3 separate regions of the Homo sapiens genome follow, and all the other regions are linked to region 3. Evidence: promoter capture Hi-C in human tissues and cell types (Jung and others, 2019). All regions are on one chromosome and are shown on one strand. The core of a region is centred on a gene start or on the middle of the fragment in contact, and the rest is flanking DNA. Distances in the headings are between cores, read along the strand shown. Region 1 overlaps DHX38 (DEAH-box helicase 38). Region 2 overlaps DHODH (dihydroorotate dehydrogenase (quinone)). Region 3 holds the start of HP (haptoglobin).

What was found. The method cuts DNA at HindIII sites, captures the fragments that hold promoters and counts their contacts. A contact is called where the count stands out against the background at its distance.
Region 1: a contact is called between a fragment that was not itself captured here and the fragment with the promoter of HP in region 3, in 1 of the 25 tissues and cell types used here (thymus).
Region 2: a contact is called between a fragment that was not itself captured here and the fragment with the promoter of HP in region 3, in 5 of the 25 tissues and cell types used here (bladder, liver, mesenchymal stem cells and 2 more).

What each region holds. Positions count from the first base shown.
Region 1 is chr16:72,107,505-72,110,204 of GRCh38, forward strand. It overlaps DHX38 (DEAH-box helicase 38), which reads left to right. Exons shown (of 27, transcript NM_014003.4): 20 at 1-44; 21 at 141-295; 22 at 723-878; 23 at 969-1,103; 24 at 1,296-1,421; 25 at 1,911-2,006. Among named protein-coding and RNA genes, the nearest start is that of DHX38, 15 kb to the left of the region's middle. RefSeq lists an enhancer at 11-1,210. The HindIII fragment of the contact is 9,973 bases long and covers 1-2,700 here.
Region 2 is chr16:72,019,703-72,022,402 of GRCh38, forward strand. DHODH (dihydroorotate dehydrogenase (quinone)) reads left to right here. Exons shown (of 9, transcript NM_001361.5): 5 at 1,422-1,609; 6 at 2,660-2,700. Among named protein-coding and RNA genes, the nearest start is that of DHODH, 12 kb to the left of the region's middle. The HindIII fragment of the contact is 9,035 bases long and covers 1-2,700 here.
Region 3 is chr16:72,053,037-72,055,818 of GRCh38, forward strand. It overlaps HP (haptoglobin), which reads left to right and starts at 1,469. Exons shown (of 7, transcript NM_005143.5): 1 at 1,469-1,621. The coding sequence starts at 1,617. The HindIII fragment of the contact is 10,372 bases long and covers 1-2,782 here.

The DNA.
Region 1 (2,700 bases), core at 1-2,500, 54 kb after region 3:
CTCTATGTATCAGCTCTGGATCCTCGGGGCCCTGGACAACACAGGTGAGGCGGCCCCGGGAGCCTCATGGGTGCTGGCGCTTGACTTCCTTCTTTCCTCTACTGTCCCGTCAAATATCCGGGTTTGCTCATCTCTCCTAGGTGGTCTGACCTCTACCGGGCGGCTGATGGTGGAGTTCCCGCTGGACCCTGCCCTGTCCAAGATGCTCATCGTGTCCTGTGACATGGGCTGCAGCTCCGAGATCCTGCTCATCGTTTCCATGCTCTCGGTCCCAGCCATCTTCTACAGGCCCAAGGTGGGGCAGCGGCTGGCTCCCCTCTCCCCGGAGGGCTCGAGGAAGTGTTGGGGAGGGGAATGGCTTCTCTCTGTATTACTGAAATGGAACAGAGGGCAGAATCAGAGTTTCTGAAGAATGATTTTGCTGTTCTCGGTTAAGCAGGTTGGGGTAGGGGAAAGGAAGGGCTGGGCCAGTGGTTCTCAGGGAATGCTTTGGAAATTTGCAAGAGCATTTTTTATCTTCTAGTATGGTTGCTCTTGAGCCCTCATGTTTTAGAGTAGACCTTTTTAAAAATTATTTTAATTTTTCTCAAATTGTCAGGGCAACCTATTGACATGTTTGAAGTTCTATGTGTGGGTAGGTGGTAGTGTTAGAACCTCTGGGATGTGCTCAGTGGGCCTGGACCCCCCTGTACTTAGAGTGAAGGTTCTTTTTCCCTTCCTAGGGTCGAGAGGAGGAGAGTGATCAAATCCGGGAGAAGTTCGCTGTTCCTGAGAGCGATCATTTGACCTACCTGAATGTTTACCTGCAGTGGAAGAACAATAATTACTCCACCATCTGGTGTAACGATCATTTCATCCATGCTAAGGCCATGCGGAAGGTAGAGTGGTGGATGAGCAGGATGTTGGGATGAGGGGAGGGTCGAGAGGAAAGGAGGGCTCCCTCCTGGTGCCTCCGTCTCCTGCCCTAGGTCCGGGAGGTGCGAGCTCAACTCAAGGACATCATGGTGCAGCAGCGGATGAGCCTGGCCTCGTGTGGCACTGACTGGGACATCGTCAGGAAGTGCATCTGTGCTGCCTATTTCCACCAAGCAGCCAAGCTCAAGGTGAACCCAGGAGCCCAGTGAGCCCCTCCCAGCCTGATACCTGTATAAGGGCAAAGTTCTTCCTTTGTCCTGGTGTGGTTCTGCAGATCTGGGCTTCCGCCAAAGGCTGTGTCAAGAGTGTTAAGGGATGGGGTCGCTGCCCAAATGGGTGTTGTTTTCCTGATGTGGCTGCCTGTTGTGTCTCCTCCCTAGGGAATCGGGGAGTACGTGAACATCCGCACAGGGATGCCCTGCCACTTGCACCCCACCAGCTCCCTTTTTGGAATGGGCTACACCCCAGATTACATAGTGTATCACGAGTTGGTCATGACCACCAAGGTGAGTCTTTTCCAAGGCACTTGCATAATGCAGGCCCCCTGTCTGGCCAGGCTTTGAAACCCTTCACTGCGTTCTGGCATGAGCTTTTAGCCTGGGAGCCTTGAGGCCACATGCATTGTTTTGCGGGGCATGTGAGGTTGGTTTTCATTTGGGGACTTGGGGAAGCTCTGCACAGGGTTGACCTCTAGACTGCATTGACCTCAGCTGCATGGGCACGATTGTTCCCCACTTGCTGCTTGGGATGAGCAACCCCTCTTGGTGTCATTAGAAGGATTTTCGGAGGGGTTGGGCCTTTTCTTTTAGATACTGGGGGCATTTTCTCAAGTGTGGAGGAGTTTGGATGGGAGTATCTGGGGTTTTTCCTTTCCTTTTTTCAGCCTTGCAGGGCCAGGGATTGGGCCCTTCCCATGTGGCTCCTAATTGTGGAACCACTCTGGGAGGGACATTGGCCCTCCTGTGACCCTCGCCTCCCTGCCCTTCTGCCCGCAGGAGTATATGCAGTGTGTGACCGCTGTGGACGGGGAGTGGCTGGCGGAGCTGGGCCCCATGTTCTATAGCGTGAAACAGGCGGGCAAGTCACGGCAGGTGAGGATTCTGTGCTCTTCGCAGGGGTGCTGTTTGCCTGTGGGGTCGGTGTTCCCTCCGCTTGGTATTGAAGACTTGCGGTCATCCAACCCACTTACTTCTCTCTGCAAACATAAAGGCTGTGATCCAGCAGGCTGGGTCTGTCTGATTCCCCACCACCCACTCCAGTTGTTTGGTAGGCTGAGCCTTTAAAAACAAAACCAAAAAACTCATTATTGAAAAGTCCAAATATTCATGAAAGTGGGAAAAACAGTACAACAGGCCACCATGAATTCGTTGCCTTGCCTCTATAATTGTCAACGTTTGTTCAATTTCACTATTCCTACCCCACTCCACACACATCCATTTTTTTTTTCTGGAATATTTTAAAGCTTATCTCATACATTATTCATCCATAAATACTTGAGTATGTGTCTCTGACTAAAAGGACTTAAAATTTTAAATATAACCTCTGTGCCGTTATCACTCATAAAAAAATGAATACTTAATGTCACCTAAGTCTCCAGTCCGCATTTGGATTTCTCCATTTATCTCAAAGATAACTTCTTATGATCGATTTGCTTGAATTAGGATCCAGGCATTGCAACTGCTTATGTGTGTTAACTGTTTCATTCTAGAACAGGCTCCACCCCACGCTTTTTTTCATGACATTGATTTATTGGAGCAGCCAGGTCATTTGTCCTGTCGAATAGTC
Region 2 (2,700 bases), core at 121-2,620, 33 kb before region 3:
CAGGCTAGGGGAGTAATCAGGTTGTCCAGGGAGCACCTAAGATACAGGGTACCCTCAGTTATTATATGAGGGAGAGTCCCTTTCCTCAGAGAACTAAAATTATAAGTTAGAAAACAATTACACCTCTACATTTTAGGCATGATAATTGAAAACATTTGGCCGGGCATGGTGGCTCACGCCTGTAATCCTAACACTCTGGAAGGCCAAGGCAAGCGGATCATTTGAGGTCAGGGGTTTGAGACCAGCCTGGCCAACATGGTGAAACCCCTTCTCTACTAAAAATACAAAAATTAGGCCGGTTGCAGTGGCTCACGCCTGTAATCCCAGCACTTTGGGAGGCTGAGGTGGGCAGATCATGAGGTCTGGAGATGGAGACCATCCTGGCCAACATGGTGAAACCCCATCTCTACTAAAAATACAAAAATTAGCTGGGCGTGGTGGCACATGCGTGTAATCCCAGCTACTCAGGAGGCTGAGACAGGAGAATTGCTTGAATTCAGGGGACGGAGGTTGCAGTGAGCCAAGATTGTGCCACCACATTCCAGCCTGGGCAACAGTGAGACTCCATCTCAAAAAAAAAAACAAAAAACATTTTCCAGTATATATATATGTGTATATGTATATGTGTATATATATATATATATATATATATGTGTATATATATATATATTTTTTTTTTTTTTCTTTTTTTTGAGACAGAGTCTTGCTCTGCTCCTTAGGCTGGAGTGCAGTGGCGCGATCACGGTTCATTGGAGCCTCAATCCTACTTCAGCCTCCCGAGCAGCTAGGACTACAGGTGTGCACCACTGCTCCCGGCTGAGTTTTCAATTATAGAGATAGGGTTTCACCATGTTGCCCAGACTGGTCTTGAATTCCTGGGCTCAAGCAATCCTCTGCCCTTGACCACCCAAAGTGCTGGGATTATAGGCGTGAGCCACCGCACCTGGCCTGTTTTTCAGTATTTTATACATGTTCTTTCATTTTGTTTTTTCTTCGCAACTGTACATCCAGTCAACCGAGCCAAGGCCAACAAGCATTCCTTGAGGTGAGAGTTGCGGGCCTGATGTGCCTACTGAGTTCTCTCTGTTCTCAGTTTTATTCAATTTATGAGGCCCATCTTTTGCCCCACAAGTATTTGCAGTAATTTGTCCATTTTCCATGAAAATTTTAAAAATAAAAAGGGCAAAATGCAGCAAAACATCCTCGTAGCTGCCCAGACTTTGCTAGACAAAGCCAGTGAGTGGTTTTGGTCAGCAGGCGGGCCCAGGCCGCAGTTGAGCACCTGTCAGCCGGTGTCGGGCAGGTCAGGTTTGGAGGGAAGGCCTGCGCGGCTGTCCACAGGTGGTTTGGTCAAGGGCAGCCTCAGAAGGTGGCACAGGAAAGGGTGTGCGGGGTGCAGGCCTGACCAGCGATGTTTGCAGATGGACTGCCTCTGGGGGTCAACTTGGGGAAGAACAAGACCTCAGTGGACGCCGCGGAGGACTACGCAGAAGGGGTGCGCGTACTGGGCCCCCTGGCCGACTACCTGGTGGTGAATGTGTCCAGCCCCAACACTGCCGGGCTGCGGAGCCTTCAGGGAAAGGCCGAGCTGCGCCGCCTGCTGACCAAGGTGGGCAGCTGCACCCCTCTCCAGGCCCTGTCCCACCAGCCTGTCCCACCTGCTCCCCTTCATTCTCCAGGGCGAACCTTCAGCATCACCCTCAGAAGCTGTCCTTAGCACCTAGACCAGTAGGACCCCTGGCTATACCTTCCCAGAGTCCCCTCTGATCCCCTCTCATGACACTGATTATATGCGACGGTGACAAATTATCTGTCCCTGCTGCTATAAATCACGGGGTCTGTAAGAGCAGACACCACGTCTCTCTCATTTGTCACTCTGACCCTAGCGCCCAGAGCTCTGAGTGAACTGAAGGACTTCATCACCCAGTACATGTGGTAATATTTCCTGGTTATCTTTTAGGAATAAAAGTCTAAAAAACGTTGGACACCGTGGCTCATGCCTGTAATACCAGCACTATGGGAGGCCAAGGCAGGTGGATCACTTATAACCCAGGAATTTGAGACCAGCCTGGGCAAAAGAGCAAGACCCTGTCTCTACAAAAATTTAAAAATTAGCCAGGCACAGTGGCTCAAGCCTATAGCCCCAGCTACTTGGAGGCCGAGGCAGGCAGATCACTTGAGCTCAGGAGCTGACCAGCCTGGGCAACTTGGCAAAACCCCATCTTACAAGAAATACAGAAATTAGCTGGGCATGGTGGTGCACACCTGTAGTCCCTGATACTCTGGAGGCTGAAGTGGAAGGATCGCCTGAGCCCAGGGAGGTGCAGGCTACAGTGAGCCGTGATCATGCTACTACACTCCAGTGTGGGTGACAGAGTGCGACCTTGTCTCAAAAAAAAAAAAAAAAAAAGAAAAGAAAAGTCTAAAACACCCTTGAGCTATTAGCCAATGTCCACGGGATCCCTTGGCCTAAAAGAATGGAATCGGATCCATCTCGACTGTACTCCTCACGTCTGAGGGCTGGCTTTCCTGAAAAGAAATTGTTTCTGCTTTAGTTTGATCGCTATTGTGGAAACCCACTGACCTGCAGCGTAGGTCACAGCTGCACTGCAGGGCTGTGGTCTGCGGGGTCCCCAGCTCTGGCCGTGTGTCGCCCTAGGTGCTGCAGGAGAGGGATGGCTTGCGGAGAGTGCACAGGCC
Region 3 (2,782 bases), core at 219-2,718:
GAAATGTCTATTTAAATCCTTTGCCCATGCTTTAATTGTTTGTCTTTTTGTTGTTGTAGTTAGGATATGCTCTGGATAACAACCCTTTATCAGATATAGAATTTGCAAATATTTTCTCCCATTCTGTAGACTGTCTTCACTTTTTTTTTTGAGACAGAGTCTTGTTCTGTCACCCAGGCTGGAGTGCAGTGGTGCGATCTAGGCTCACTGCAACCTCTGCCTCCCAGGTTCAAGCAATTCTCCTGCCTCAGCCTCCGAGTAGCTGGGATTAAAGCATGCGCCACCATGCCTGGCTAATTTTTGTATTTTTAGTAGAGATGGAATTTCACCACATTGGTCAGGCTGGTCTCAAACTCCTGACCTCATGATCCGCCCACCTCAGCCTCCCGAAGTGCTGGGATTACAGGCGTGAGCCACCACGCCTGGCCTGTCTTCATTTTATTAATACTGTCTTTTGATACACAAATGTTCATTCCGATGAAGCCCAATTTATCTAATTTTTCTTTGATTGCTGGTGATTTTGGTGTCATTATCTAAGAATCCATTGCCAAGTTTTACTTGGTTTTGATCTCTAGAAGACTGCCATCATACTGAAGGTAATCTTCTGAAACTTGCGGTTTTCTTTCAAAAATTATGTTTATAAGATGATCCATGTTCTTGCAGAGTTTATTCATTTTATGCTGTATAATATTCCATTATATCCACATACAATGCAGTATTGACCCTTCCTCCTGTTGATGGGCATTTGTCTTGTTTCTAGTTACTTTGCTATTATATCAGTGTCACCATGATTATCCAAAAGTAATTCTTTTGTACACTCTAATTTAAGAACAACTAACCCTTTTTAATGAATAAATCAACCTTGTATTGAGTTGCTACTAAGTTTCAGTTGACTAGTACCTGGGATACACACAGGTGCAGACATTTGACTGAGACATATTGATTTTTCTCATCTGCCTATTTAGGCTAATCACCAGACTATAAAACCATGAGAACCACTGCCATTGAGTATAGTCTGTGTCAGTCTACACTATAGCTTTAACTAGTTGTGTGATTTCTTGCAAAGAGCAATCAGAGAAGACACAATAAACACATTTACTGATTTCAGGCTGGAGAGCTTTTAAGCAATAGGGAGATGGCCACACACAAGGTGGAGAAAATTACTGTGAAAAGGAAGTACTTTCTTTAGAGCCCCACCTAAGCTAGGCTGCAGAAATGTCTACAATGGGTTTGAAAAAACTCAAAATGAGCCTTTCTGCAGTGTGAAAATCCTCCAAGATAAAGAGACAGATTGATGGTTCCTGCCGCCGCCCTGTCCTGCCCAGTTGCTGATTTCAGGAAATACTTTGGCAGGTTTGTGGGTCATAGAGTTGCCAGGTTTCTTGGGATTTGTAATAGAACATCACAAGAAAATCAAGTGTGAAGCAAGAGCTCAACTCTTAACAGGGGTATTGTTTGTGGTTTTGTTACTGGAAAAGATAGTGACCTTACCAGGGCCAAAGTTTGTAGACACAGGAATTACGAAATGGAGAAGGGGGAGAAGTGAGCTAGTGGCAGCATAAAAAGACCAGCAGATGCCCCACAGCACTGCTCTTCCAGAGGCAAGACCAACCAAGATGAGGTGGGTCCACAGCTTTCCCTCCTGCCTTTCCTCTGGTTCTTTATTTCAGTCTTTTTTGCATACATCGGTAGAGATGCAGAAATAGAACAAAGAAACGGGCAAATGGGCTAAATTATAGTGAACCAAAGGGCTTAGTGTGTTAAATCTTCTCCTTTTCTGCATCCATAGAAGACAGTGCTGCTGTCTTTCCCAGGAGATAAGATTTACTCTCAGGAGTGTCTTTTTCCTTCAGGTTACATTTTTGACTTTATAGGGTATGTCATCAGCTCCCGTGGTAGGCTTCCTGGCATCCTGAGTATATTTATTAGCAGATATTTTCCTCTTTAAAAATGTACAATAAGGAAGACTAATAGTAACACATTTGAATGACACAATTAATTGACTAGTACCTGGGATACACACTAATACCTGGGATACATCTAATTAAGGCACTTAGATCTTATAAAAATAAACACTTTTTGAAATGTTGAAATAATAAGACTAGAAACTTTTTTTTTTTTTGAGATGGAGTCTCGCTTTGTCACCAGGCTGCAGTGCAGTGGCATGATCTCGGCTCACTGCAACCTCCACCTCCCAGGTTCAAGTGATTCTCCTGCCTCAGCCTCCCAGGTAGCTGGGACTACAGGCGTGCGCCACTATGCCCACCTAATTTTTGTATTTTTAGTAGAGACGGGCTTTCACCATGTTGGCCAGGATGACCTCGATCTCTTGACCTCGTGATCTGCCTGCCTTGGCCTCCCAAAGTGCTGGGATTACAGGCATGAGCCACCGTGTCTGGCCTAGAAACTATTTTAATAGAAGCAAGTAGTGCCCGAATGGTTGGCATTTGTTAGTGAGATGGTGAACTGGCAGACGGCACCTGTGGGTCAATGCCCATGGCCACCGTCCTGCTTTTGGACACCAGTTCTCTTCCAGGTAACCTTCTGGCATTTTGGGGTTTCAGATACCATTTCCTAAAGGTGAATTATTATAAAATACTAGAAATACCCACGTGTTTAAAATTATATATTTAAGGAACCTTTTATTACGGAAAATATCAAGAAGTAGAGGAATAGCACAGTAAGCCCAAAGTTCCCATCTCTGAGTTATCTACATTTTATTACCACTATCTTTGCGGTGTCTGAGGGAGGTTTCTCTTTCCTGGAGGGCTCCTGTATTATT